Linked DNA regions of Homo sapiens: region 1 is linked to region 2. Evidence: promoter capture Hi-C in human tissues and cell types (Jung and others, 2019). All regions are on one chromosome and are shown on one strand. The core of a region is centred on a gene start or on the middle of the fragment in contact, and the rest is flanking DNA. Distances in the headings are between cores, read along the strand shown. Region 1 has its middle 4.5 kb from the start of OR2AE1. Region 2 holds the start of ZKSCAN1 (zinc finger with KRAB and SCAN domains 1).

Evidence for each region. Contacts are between HindIII fragments. The study calls those that stand out against the background at their distance.
Region 1: a fragment that was not itself captured here is called in contact with the fragment with the promoter of ZKSCAN1 in region 2 in 1 of the 25 tissues and cell types used here (pancreas).

The regions. Positions count from the first base shown.
Region 1 is chr7:99,878,676-99,884,294 of GRCh38, reverse strand. No RefSeq gene overlaps it. Among named protein-coding and RNA genes, the nearest start is that of OR2AE1, 4.5 kb to the right of the region's middle. The HindIII fragment of the contact is 3,725 bases long and covers 1,504-5,228 here.
Region 2 is chr7:100,014,160-100,019,704 of GRCh38, reverse strand. It overlaps ZKSCAN1 (zinc finger with KRAB and SCAN domains 1), which reads right to left and starts at 4,109. Exons shown (of 6, transcript NM_003439.4): 1 at 3,979-4,109. RefSeq lists a silencer at 3,854-4,023. The HindIII fragment of the contact is 22,044 bases long and covers 552-5,545 here.

The sequences.
Region 1 (5,619 bases), core at 2,117-4,616, 130 kb after region 2:
TGTGTATTATGTTGTTTTTGGAATGGAGAAAACACAAATAAATGAAAAGACATTCCATGTTAATGAATTGGAAGAATAATATTGTTAAAATGTTCATATTACCAAAGCAACCTACAGAATCAGTGCAGTCTCTATCAAAATCCTGATGGTATTTATTACAGAAATAGAAAAAAATCCTAGAATTCACATGGAACCACAAAAGGCCTCAAATAGCCAAAGCAATTTTGAGCAAGAAAAACACAGCTGGGGACATTACAAGTCCTGATTTAAGACTATATTCCATAGCTACAATAATCAAAACAGCATGATACTGATATAGAAGTTAAAAAGGAATTATTTAGGCAGTTAGTAAGGGTAAAAGAATTCTCAGTGGAATTTCCTTTTAATAAAAAGCAGCCCCCACATCATTTCTTTTCTAACAAAAATCAACCTGAAAAATCAAGCTGCAAGCATTGATACACAAGCTGGAAGCTTGCATAGGTGAATACTGGCAGCCGTGCCGATACCAAAGAGATACCTGGAAGCCAGGTACATCCAACATGGAGGTTTTCTCCTCCCTTCTCTTTGTTGCCAAATGTGCAGATGTCATGGTGCTGGCCAGGTGGAGATCCCACCTGTATAATAAAAGATTAGGGTGGGATGGCCAGCCTAATCACGGGCTATGTAAATGGCACACCTGGTCCAACCAATCCCATGGGCCCTATGAAAATCAGACACTGCCTTTCTAAGCCCCTCTATAAAGTCAACTGCATCTCACCCCAAACCTGGAAACCCACTTTGGTTCCCTTCCTCTGCATGAGGAAGCTCTGTCTTCTTTCTTTCACTTTAATTAAAGTTCTGCTCTTAAACCCACTCCTTGTATGTGTCCTCATATTTGATTTCCTTAGCACAAGACAACGAACCTTGGGTATTTCCCCAGACAAATGATGTCGCTTCAGTATTGGCATAAAAACAGACAGATAGACAAACAGAACAGAATAGGCAGTGCAGAAATAAACCCATGCATATACAGTCAGCTTATCTTCAACAAGTGTGCCAAGAATGCACAATAAAGACAGGATAGTCTCTTTTCCATCCTGGCCAACGTGGTGAAACCCCGTCTCTACTAAAAATACAAAAATTATCTGGGCATGTCGGCATGTGCCTGTAATCCCAGCTACTTGGAAGGCTGAGGCAGGAGAATTGCTTGAACCTGGGAGGCAGAGGTTGCAGTGAGCCGAGATCACGCCATTGCACTCCAGCCTGGCAAAACAGTGAGACTCCGTCTCAAAAAAAAAAAAAGAAAAGATAGTCTCTTTAATAACTGGTTTTGGGAAAACTGGATATCCGCATGCAAACAAAGAAATTAAACCCCTCTCTTACACCATACACAAAAATCAGCATAAAATGAATTAAAGACCAAAATGTAAGACCTGAAACCATAAAACTCCTAGAGGAAAACATAAGGGAAAAGCTTCTTGACATTAGCCTTTATAATGATTTCTTGGGTATGACACCAAAAGAAGGCAACAAAAGCAAAAACGGGCAAGTGGGAAGACATCAAACTCAAAAGCTTCTGCACAGCAAAGAAACGATAAAAAATAAAAATAAAAAGCCCACCTATTGAATGAGAGAAATTATTTGCAATCTGTATTAGGTTATTCCTCCATTGCTATAAGAAGTACCCAAGGCTGGGTAATGTATAAAGAAAAGAGGTTTAATTGGCTCATGGTTCTGCAGGCTGTACAGGAAGCCTGGTGCTTGTGTCCGATGATCTTCTTGGGAGGCCTCAGGGAGCTTTTACTCACCGTAGAAGGCAAAGTGAGAGCAGGTAGGTCACATGGAGAAAGCAGGAGTGAGAGAGAGTTGGGGAGAGTGCTACACAATTTTAAACAACCAGCGAATATCAGTGAAGCAAAACATTTTAGGATTTGAGTTGAGATGGAGAAACAAAGAAGAGGTCAACATATCCCTATAATGGAAAGGAAGGGCAGGGTATGAGAATGATATCGGAGTGCATAAGAAGGAGAGGTAGGGTTATGCCATTTTTTCCTTTTCCCTCTGTGTCTGAAATCTTTTTCTTTCTTTCTTTCTTTTTTTTTTTTGGAGATGAAGTTTTACTCTGTCACCCAGGCTGGAGTGCTGTGGTGCGATCTCAGCTCACTGCAACCTACACCTCTCGGGTTCAAGTGATTCTCCTGCCTCAGTCTCCCGAGTAGTTTGGACTACAGATGTGTGCCACCATGCCTGGCTAATTTTTGTATTTTTAGTACAGACAGGGTTCTGCCATGTTGGCCAGGCTGGTCTCAGACTTCTGACCTCAAGTAATCCACCTGCCTCCATCTCCCAAAGTGCTGGGATTAAAGGTGTGAGCCACCGCACTCGACCTGAAATCTCTTGACATGTTATATTCATGTAGTCTATGAAATTGGAGTACGATCAACAGCTAGGATGGGAACTGCCTGCCTCTATTCCTTGACTTCTTTCCTATGATATGGCACATGGAAACCCTCAAAAGGGTCCTGTGGGCAAAAGAGACTAGATATTATTACTCAGACTGTCTTCTCAAAAGGGTTGCGTGGAAAGGCGTTACAGAAATCTGGGTTCCCAAGTGAAAAACAATCAAGGGACTCTAAGAATTTTTTATCTCCACAGTTAATTGGCCCCTGAGGAGAATATTCTCCTGTTATCTTCAGGCTCACTCCGCAAAATATCTCATTCTCCTGATCACTTGGAACAAACTCCAAGTAAAGCCCTTTGGGGATGCTTATCTCAGTGCATACAGCACAGTCTAATTGACATCTTGAGTAATGGTCTCCAGAAGCCATGCAAGATGTGTCCTCTGGGATGGAATCCCTGACGCCATTCTATTTAGTGTCCACAATTTGCTTCAGCTGACATAGGTCCTCTGGGTTAGGGGGATGTTTTATTTCTCCCAGATGATGTCTGTTTTTTCTTATGATTGGCTCACATCAGACCAAGAATGTTCTTACTCTAACCCCCATGATTACTATTGAGAAGACATTTATGCAGTCAGAAAAGTGCTTCCTGACTGCATCAGCCAAATTCATATTTTATTAAGTAGGGAAGGAAGTGTAAAGCTAAGAAGAGAGTGCCTTGAGAGATCCAAAACAATGGAAAACCATAACAGATTTTCTTTTGACTCTGGGCACATTCATGATTAAACTGGTATTCAGTTTACCTTCTTAATAAAGTAATATTAATGGAAATTCCTATTGCCCAAGCTCCGATATTGGAATGGAGGGTTGTCTCAAATATACATATAGAGCCAGAGGAAGCATATGTGTGATTCAAAGGTCCAACTAGTAGAGGCTAAAGTTCAGTTACTTAATCTGTCCTGATGTGTGTTGATGGAGCTCACAATATGAACACACATGTGTCCCATTGGTCCTGGTGATATTCTGCCATTAGGGTAATTAGTGCAAACAACAATGCCTGCGTTGGGGCAATTTCTTCTATGCCGTTCCACAGTAAATGTAACGTAAATGGAAATTTCCAGGCTTAGGGAAGGAAGTCTGGTGAGCACCTCAGAAAAGGCTTGTTTTGATCAACAGTAGCCAACAGGTGGGTCAGTGTGGACCTCTCTTGCCCTCTGCATTTCATTTCTATGCTTTGTCTTCCTACGAGTCTCTGCAGGGAAATAACAGGTAAGATAATATTAGGGCTTGAGGTATTTAGGAAACCTTTATTATAAATTAGGGCATTGTCAGCTTATCCCTTAAGTCAATCCATAAGGAAAGCTTCCTTGGAAGGCAGAGAAAAAAAAAAGTCACTTGAAGGCCACAAATCAGAATGGGAAATTATTAGCAAAGTTGCTGAAGGGAGGAAGAGAGACACAGGTCAGATGGTGAAAAACTTACACCATGGAGATTTGTAGAGAAAGATGGACACTAATGTGGAAAGTGATAGAGAAGTATATGGATACTTAAATAAAAGGGAAGTGTGTGGAGATCTCTAATGGGTTGGAGTGATCAGGAGGAGCATGGGAGAAGTTGAGCTTCTAGTCCACCAGAAGCTGAGTGTGAAATAACAGTGTGAAGTGACAGCCAGAAAGATGAGACTGTAGACTGCATTAGGAGAGAGACAGTAATAGATGTGACTTTTTTTTTTTTTTTTGAGACAGAATTTTGCTCTTGTTGCTCAAGGTGGAGTGCAATGGTGTGATCTCGGCTCACTGCATCATCTGCCTCCTGGGTTCTAGCGATTCTCCTGCCTCAGCCTCTGGAGTAGCTGGGATTACAGGCATGCGCCACCACGCCCGGCTAATTTTGTATTTTCAGTAGAGACGGGGTTTCTACATGTTGGTCAGGCTGGTCTCGAACTCCTGACCTCAGGTGATCCACTTGTCGTGGCCTCCCAAAGTGCCAGGATTACAGGCATGAGCGACCGCGCCCGGCCAGATGTGACCTCTTTCTTACTGATCAAATGCTTGGGAGAATGCATTCAGTTCTGAGTTCTTTGCTTTAAGAAGTAAATAGATAATCGTCACCGCATGAAGGTCTAGAAAGACATTTAGGAGAAAAAACACAAAAAAGAATAGGGTGGATATTTGAGGAATCAATTAAGATTACTTTTTTTTTTTGAGACAGAGTCTTGCCCTGTCGCCCAGGCTAGAGTGCAGTGGCACAATCTTGGCTCACTGCAAACTCCACCTCCCGGGTTCAAGGGATTCTAATGCCTCAGCCCCTCGAGTAGCTGCAATTACAGGTATGTGCCACCAAGCCTGGCTAATTTTTGTATTTTTAGTAGAGACAGGGTTTCACTATGTTGGCCAGGCTGGTCTCAAAGTCCTGACCTCAGGTGATCTGCCTGCCTTGGCCTCCCAAAGTGCTGGGATTACAGACCTGAGCCACTGTCCCCTGCCTGAAATTAACAATTATTAATACATCTTATGTTAGATACGGGGGATGACAGAGGAGAAGAAAACAAATATTCAGTACACATACACACACACACAGAATAAATGCCCATAACTATTACAGTTTTTGTTTCTGTAGCTGCTCACATGGTTTTTGGCTGGTATTTATAACGACTTGCTTTCACTACCCATTCCAATTCTCTTTGTCTACAGTTATTCATGACTCTTTGCCTGGTGGGGTAACCCAAACCTTTATTCCTGAAGCATCTGGGCCACTAGCAGTCTTGTCTGAATTGGGTTGTAGTTTTCTATTGGCTTACATCATGAGACATGAGAGTACACCCTAGAAAATCTGACTGCAGACATAATTCTCCATATCCTCACTGTATAGTAGTGACTGAATTTCCCATTGCTAGTCAGAATCAGTCTTACTAGCCAATAGAGTAACCTTATTTGCCTATTGATTCAGTTCTATGAGGAGCCCCAAGTGGCATGGTGGCAGTCTTAACTATCAGAAAATGGGATTATTGTTGTGACACCTGGTAGAAGAATTTCTCCCTTTGGAACTAAGACCTCTAAAACAGCAAAAGCTAAAAGTGAAGGGATAGAAAACTAAAATTGTGCTGGTGGGTCACAGTTATGGGGGCTATAGTGAGAGGACTCATTCTCTCTTCTACCTGGTGATTTCTGGTTCCATGAATCTTGCTATGGGAGGAAGAGCAGCATAAATTGGATGCAGATTTAGAGTATATTTCACATCC
Region 2 (5,545 bases), core at 2,860-5,359:
AAGAACTGAGATATACTGCCATTAAATAACTTACTCAAGGTCACACAGCAAGTATATGGTAGAGGCAGAATTTGAAATAAAAGTGATTCCCCAATGTAAACTCTTTAACCATTATACAAAATTTATCTTGTACCTGACATGTGGGGTATACAGATCCTAAAATGAAGGCCTATGAACGTGACAATGAAGAATCAATCAGGGCCAGGCACGGTAGCTCACGCCTGTAATCCCAGCACTTTGGGATGCCAAGGAGGGTCGATCACCTGAGCTGAGGAGCTCGGGACCAGCCTGGCCAACATGACGAAACCCCGTCTCTACTAAAAATACAAAAATTAGCTGGATGTGTGGCACATACCTGTAATCTCAGCTACTCGGGAGGCTGAGGCAGGAGAATCACTTGAACCTGGGAGGTGGAGGGTGCAGTGAGCTGAGAACGCGCCACTGCACTCCAGCCTGGGTGACAGAGAGAGACTCCTTCTCAAAGAGAAAAAAAAATCACTCAGGAACGGGCCTTATCTACCACCCAGTTTTCACTGGAGGGTCACTATGTGACTGAAGCCCTTCCTGGGAAAGGGAGGAGACACAGCAGAAGATTCAAGTGGGGACTGTCTACAACATAACCAGGTGGGATCTTCAAACATGGTAACTGAGCAGAACTAGTGTGATAGCGAGCCCAGCCACCAGAAATCCCTACTTTTGTGAAAGTTTTATCCTGCCTTAGCTATTGAGCAGGACACTTCTTGGGTCAGTGCGAAGATGCGACTCTAAGGAGGAAATGAGTCCAGGGGGAAATAGACACAGACATGGGCACATTCCCTCTGCCCACAACTGGGACAGATCCTCCTCCTCACCTTCAGTATCTCTCTGCTCCTACTCTGGGGTGCAGGGAAAAGCCATCACAGCAGTGGAAAGGCTGGGTTTTATTTGAGGTTTCCCAGATGATCTGAGCACATACTCTTCTGTCTCTAAAGGCCCTAATACTCTTCACCAAACATTTGCTAGGTAATTTCTCATGATGCGCCGGGCGCAGTGGCTCATGCCTGTAATCCTAGCACTTTGGGAGGCTGAGGTGGGCGGATCACGAGGTGAGGAGATCGAGACCATCCTGGTAACACGATGAAACCCCGTCTCTACTAAAAATATAAAAAATTAGCTGGGTGTGGTGGCGGGCGCCTGTAGTCCCAGCTACTTGGGAGGCTGAGGCAGGAGAATGGCGTGAACCCGGGAGGCTGCGATTGCGCCACTGCACTCCAGCCTGGGTGACAGAGCGAGACTCTGTCTCAAAAAAAAAAAAAAAATTTCTCATGATGTTTCTTTCTCTGTAATTTTTCTTGCCTTCTTCCTCAACTAGATTATTAAGAGCAGTCCTCTTTGTACTCCTTAGACCACTTAGCATGATTCCTTGCAAGCCTCAGTTTCAAAAATACACTTGACTGAATTGACAACGTTACTATTTTTTAAAAGCCCGATCATTCTACATTCAATGTTGCACTCAAATTTGTTCCATGGACTAGTTGGATGAGTTTCAGGTTAGCATTAAAGCTGCTCCACCCCTTACTAGTTGACGGCCTTAGGCAAGTCAACAAGTTAACCTCTCTATGCGTCAGTTTCCTCATCTGTATAATGGGAATAAAAATCAGCATTTGTCCCATAGAGTTGCCGTGAGGATTAAATGAGGTAATAGATATAAAGCACTTAAAATAGTGCCTGGCATTTAGTAGGCACTACAGAAATGTCTTAATTTTTTTCAATAAGCTTAAAAGATGTAACTGTACATTCCAATTTTCAGCCTGCTTAGAAGATTAAGCAATGGGACAACTCCTGTAATAGTGAAAGCTGCACAGGCAATAACTGAATTCTAGTCTCCCACAAGTAAGTGGCACATCCCTGAGAGAGGTATTTAACTTCTCTGGCATTTTGTATCTTTATCAGTCAAATGGGGGTAGGGTGGGGGTTCCAGATAGTAGGAAACTACCTCTGGGTGAATATGGGCTGAAAAACATACTGACATACCATCCACTTTAAATAAAATTACCTCCAGCAGCTAAGGATACCTCAGTTCTCACCTAGGATAAACAGAAATGATTTTCTTAAACAACGGCTTGAAGTTACAAGCTCAAAGGCTGTGTTCCAAACAGCCCAGTATTTTTCCAGGGCATAGTCTTGAAAATGTAAACAAAGGCTGGGCACACAGTGGCTCACGCCCGTAATCCCAGCACTTTGGGAGGCTGAGGTTGGCGGACTGCCTGAGATCAGGCGTTCGAGACCAGCCTGGCCAACATGGCGAAACTCTGTCTCTACTAAAAATACAAAAATCAGCCAAGCCTTGGGACACATGCCTGTAGTCCCAGCTATTCGGGAGGCGGAGGCAGGAGGATCGCTTGAACTCGGGAGGCAGAGGTTGCAGTAAGCCGAGATCGCACCACTGCACTCCAGCCTGGGCGACAGAGCAAGACTCTGTCTCAAAAAAAAAAAAATTTTTTTTTAAATAAATTGCCCTTTGCCCTTTACACTCATTTTTTTAAAGAGCAATCAAATGTTTTAATATGAAAAAGCTACCTTAAAAGACAGCTAGCTATTCAAAGAATATTGATACTCCCACAGAATGAAAATGTTAGATTTAATATGCTATTCATCTGTATTTTAAATGCTTTTAAATCGAGAATGAGCAAAAGACTAAGTAGCTAGCTTCCTCGTTTGTATTTTAAGAGTGGTGAAAACTGCCTGAAATAATAAACAAGAATCTTATATGTTAATTCAGAGAAGATACAAACCTGGATACACATTCTGGGGCAAATCACCATGGTTTCCTATGTAAAACAGCGATTTCTCCACATTTGTTCAGCATATATACTAACAGTGCTTTGCTGATGTGGTTACAATGAATTCTCCACAATTCAATTCAACAAGTATTTATTGACCGCCTCCAATCCGCCTAGCACTGGCCCGTACAATAAATGCTTTCTTTGGTCCCAGGCCATGGAACAGCCACTCTCTATAATGAAAGTATCTTACTGTGTACAGGGGGCACTGCAGGAAAGGGAGGGGAGGGATGGAGGAGTGTCAAGCTAAACTGTAGTTAATTCTTCAATTACATTGACCAAATCATTTCGAAGTCGGAAGGGCCTTTTGAGAAAATCCAGTTAGTTTTTATTGATGACGAAATTAAGACTTGGTGAGTGTCTCGTCTTATCCAAGGTCACTCAGCTAATCAGTCTCCTAGTGACACAGTGCAATTTCCACAAATTCCCTTCACTTCTCACCCCACTCCATGTCAAACAGAGCAACTATCCAGAATTGAAAAATCCACCTAACGTCCCGGACAGCTCTTTTCCAAAGCCTTCAAAGCATTCCATCAAGCTGAAAGAGTGGGGTGTATATAATCTCTACTAGATCCCAATCACCTATTTATCCACTATGACTAGGCTTCAAATACTCTTTAATCACCGCTCAGTGATGAGGGTGGGAGAAGGAAAGGCAGGTCTGGAAACGTATGCGGCACCTCAAAATGTGTCCATCTCTCATCCTTCCGCTCATTTCACCTCGAGGTCCCGAAGGAACCGGGGGGGGAAAAAGACACCTCACCGGAATCAAAGCAAATGGCGACTAAGGGAGAGCAGAAAAATCAAGACCGGGGTCGGTTCGCTCGCGACCCCGTTTGCAGAAACGTCAAAGGGCGATGACGACACTGCGGGAGAGGGGCCCACAGACGGCTTCTCCCCGGGTCTCCGGGCACCCTCAGCCACTGAAACCCTCGCCCCCTCCCCGCCTGATCCTGGGGGTGGGGCGGGGACGTCTCCCAGGAAGAACGGCGCTTTCTACGGCCGGGCCCGGCCAGGAGGCAGGGGCATGGACTCTCTTCGCACAACAGCGGGGCCGCCTGGAGGGGGTCCCAGGGCCGCAGCTGCGGAGCCCACCCTCGCGCACACACCCTTGCGGCCCCGCCCTCCCACCCCAGAGGCCGGCCCCAAGTCTCACCGTGAGCCCCGGGAGCGGCCTGGGGGCGCTGGGCGAGAAAGGGGAGCTGACTCTGGGGCTCAGGCCGGCCGAAGGGCACCGCACACGGACTTAGGCCCTCCCGACGCCTCGACACAGACACAATGAGTCACAAAGGCCGGAAGCGTGTCACCACCTCGTCTTCCGGGACCGCGCCGCGCTTCCGGGTCCTCTCTAGGAGCGCGGGAGGACTTTGCATCTCGGTTTCCGAATCGCTGGACCAGGCGCCTGCCCTTGAGTTTTCAAGCCTCCAGCTTGGAGGATCAGGTCCCAGTCCGCCCCTAGTTAATGCAGGGACTAACGGGAGCAGGTGGTGGGGGGTTTCAGGCTTTCCCCTACTCAAACTCAAACAGACTCTCCAGCTCAGACACCAGTCCATGTGAAAGTTCGATTTCACCTGTCTTTTTCATCTCAGGCAGTCCTTGTAGTAATTATAGTTATTATCAAGCAATATAGTACTTGGTAATTGTATGTCTGTGGCAAAGGAACTGAAACAAGGATGTAGACTGAGGAAGATCAAAGTGAAGCCAAGGGTGGCTGGTTTCCCAAAGCTGCCACGGTAGCTTCTCTCAGGGCCCTGGAGCTATATGGAGTGGTATTTTCAAATACTTGGCCCGTGGACAAGGGATGTCTTTCCACAAGCAAGCATAGTTATAAGGTTCTGTGCTTTGCTCATGTGGCATATGCTATTATAGCCGTTTAAAAGGAGTTTTCAGAGTAACAACAGACACTTTTACCTTCAAAGTGCTTTCACAACCTACCACAGTTACAGCCTTCATCTTTGCCTTGCAGGGTAAGGCACGCATAAGAGGGGGCCACGTTGTGCAAGGGTGGGGGGGACTACAGGCTTTAATGGTTGTGACTTTCCACTATGTTCCGAGACAAGTTCATGGGAGAAACTCAGTAGCTTGGTTGCATGACTCTTACTGCTTGGAGAGATTTACTTTTTTTTTTTAGATGGAGTCTCGCTCTGTCACCCAGCCTGCAGTGCAGTGGCACCATCTTGGCTCACTGCAACCTCCACCTCCCAGGTTCAAGCGATTCTCCTGCCTTAGCCTCCTGAGTACCTGGGACTACAGGCGCACACCACCATGCCTGGTTAATTTTTGTATTTTTGGTAGAGAACAGGGTTTCACCATATTGGCCAGGATGGTCTCGATCTACTGACCTTGTGATCCACCCGCCTCAGCCTCCCAAAGTGCTGGAATTACAGGCGTGAGCCACCGTGCCCGGCCAGATTTACTTTTTAAAAAATGTTTGAAAACTAAAAAGCAATGACAGGGCCAGACACGATGACTCAAGCCTGTAATCTTAGCACTTCGGGAGGCTGGGACGGGAGGATTCTTGAGCCCAAGAGTTGGAGACCAGCCTAAGCAACGTAATGAGACCCTCTCTCTACAAAAAATACTAAAATTAGCTGGGTGCAGGGTAGTGTGTGCCAGTGGTCCCAGCTGCTTGGGAGGCTGAGGTAGAAGGATAGATTGAGCCCAGGAGGTTGAGGCTGCAGTGAGCTATGATTGTGCCATTGCACCCCAGTCTGGGCCACAGA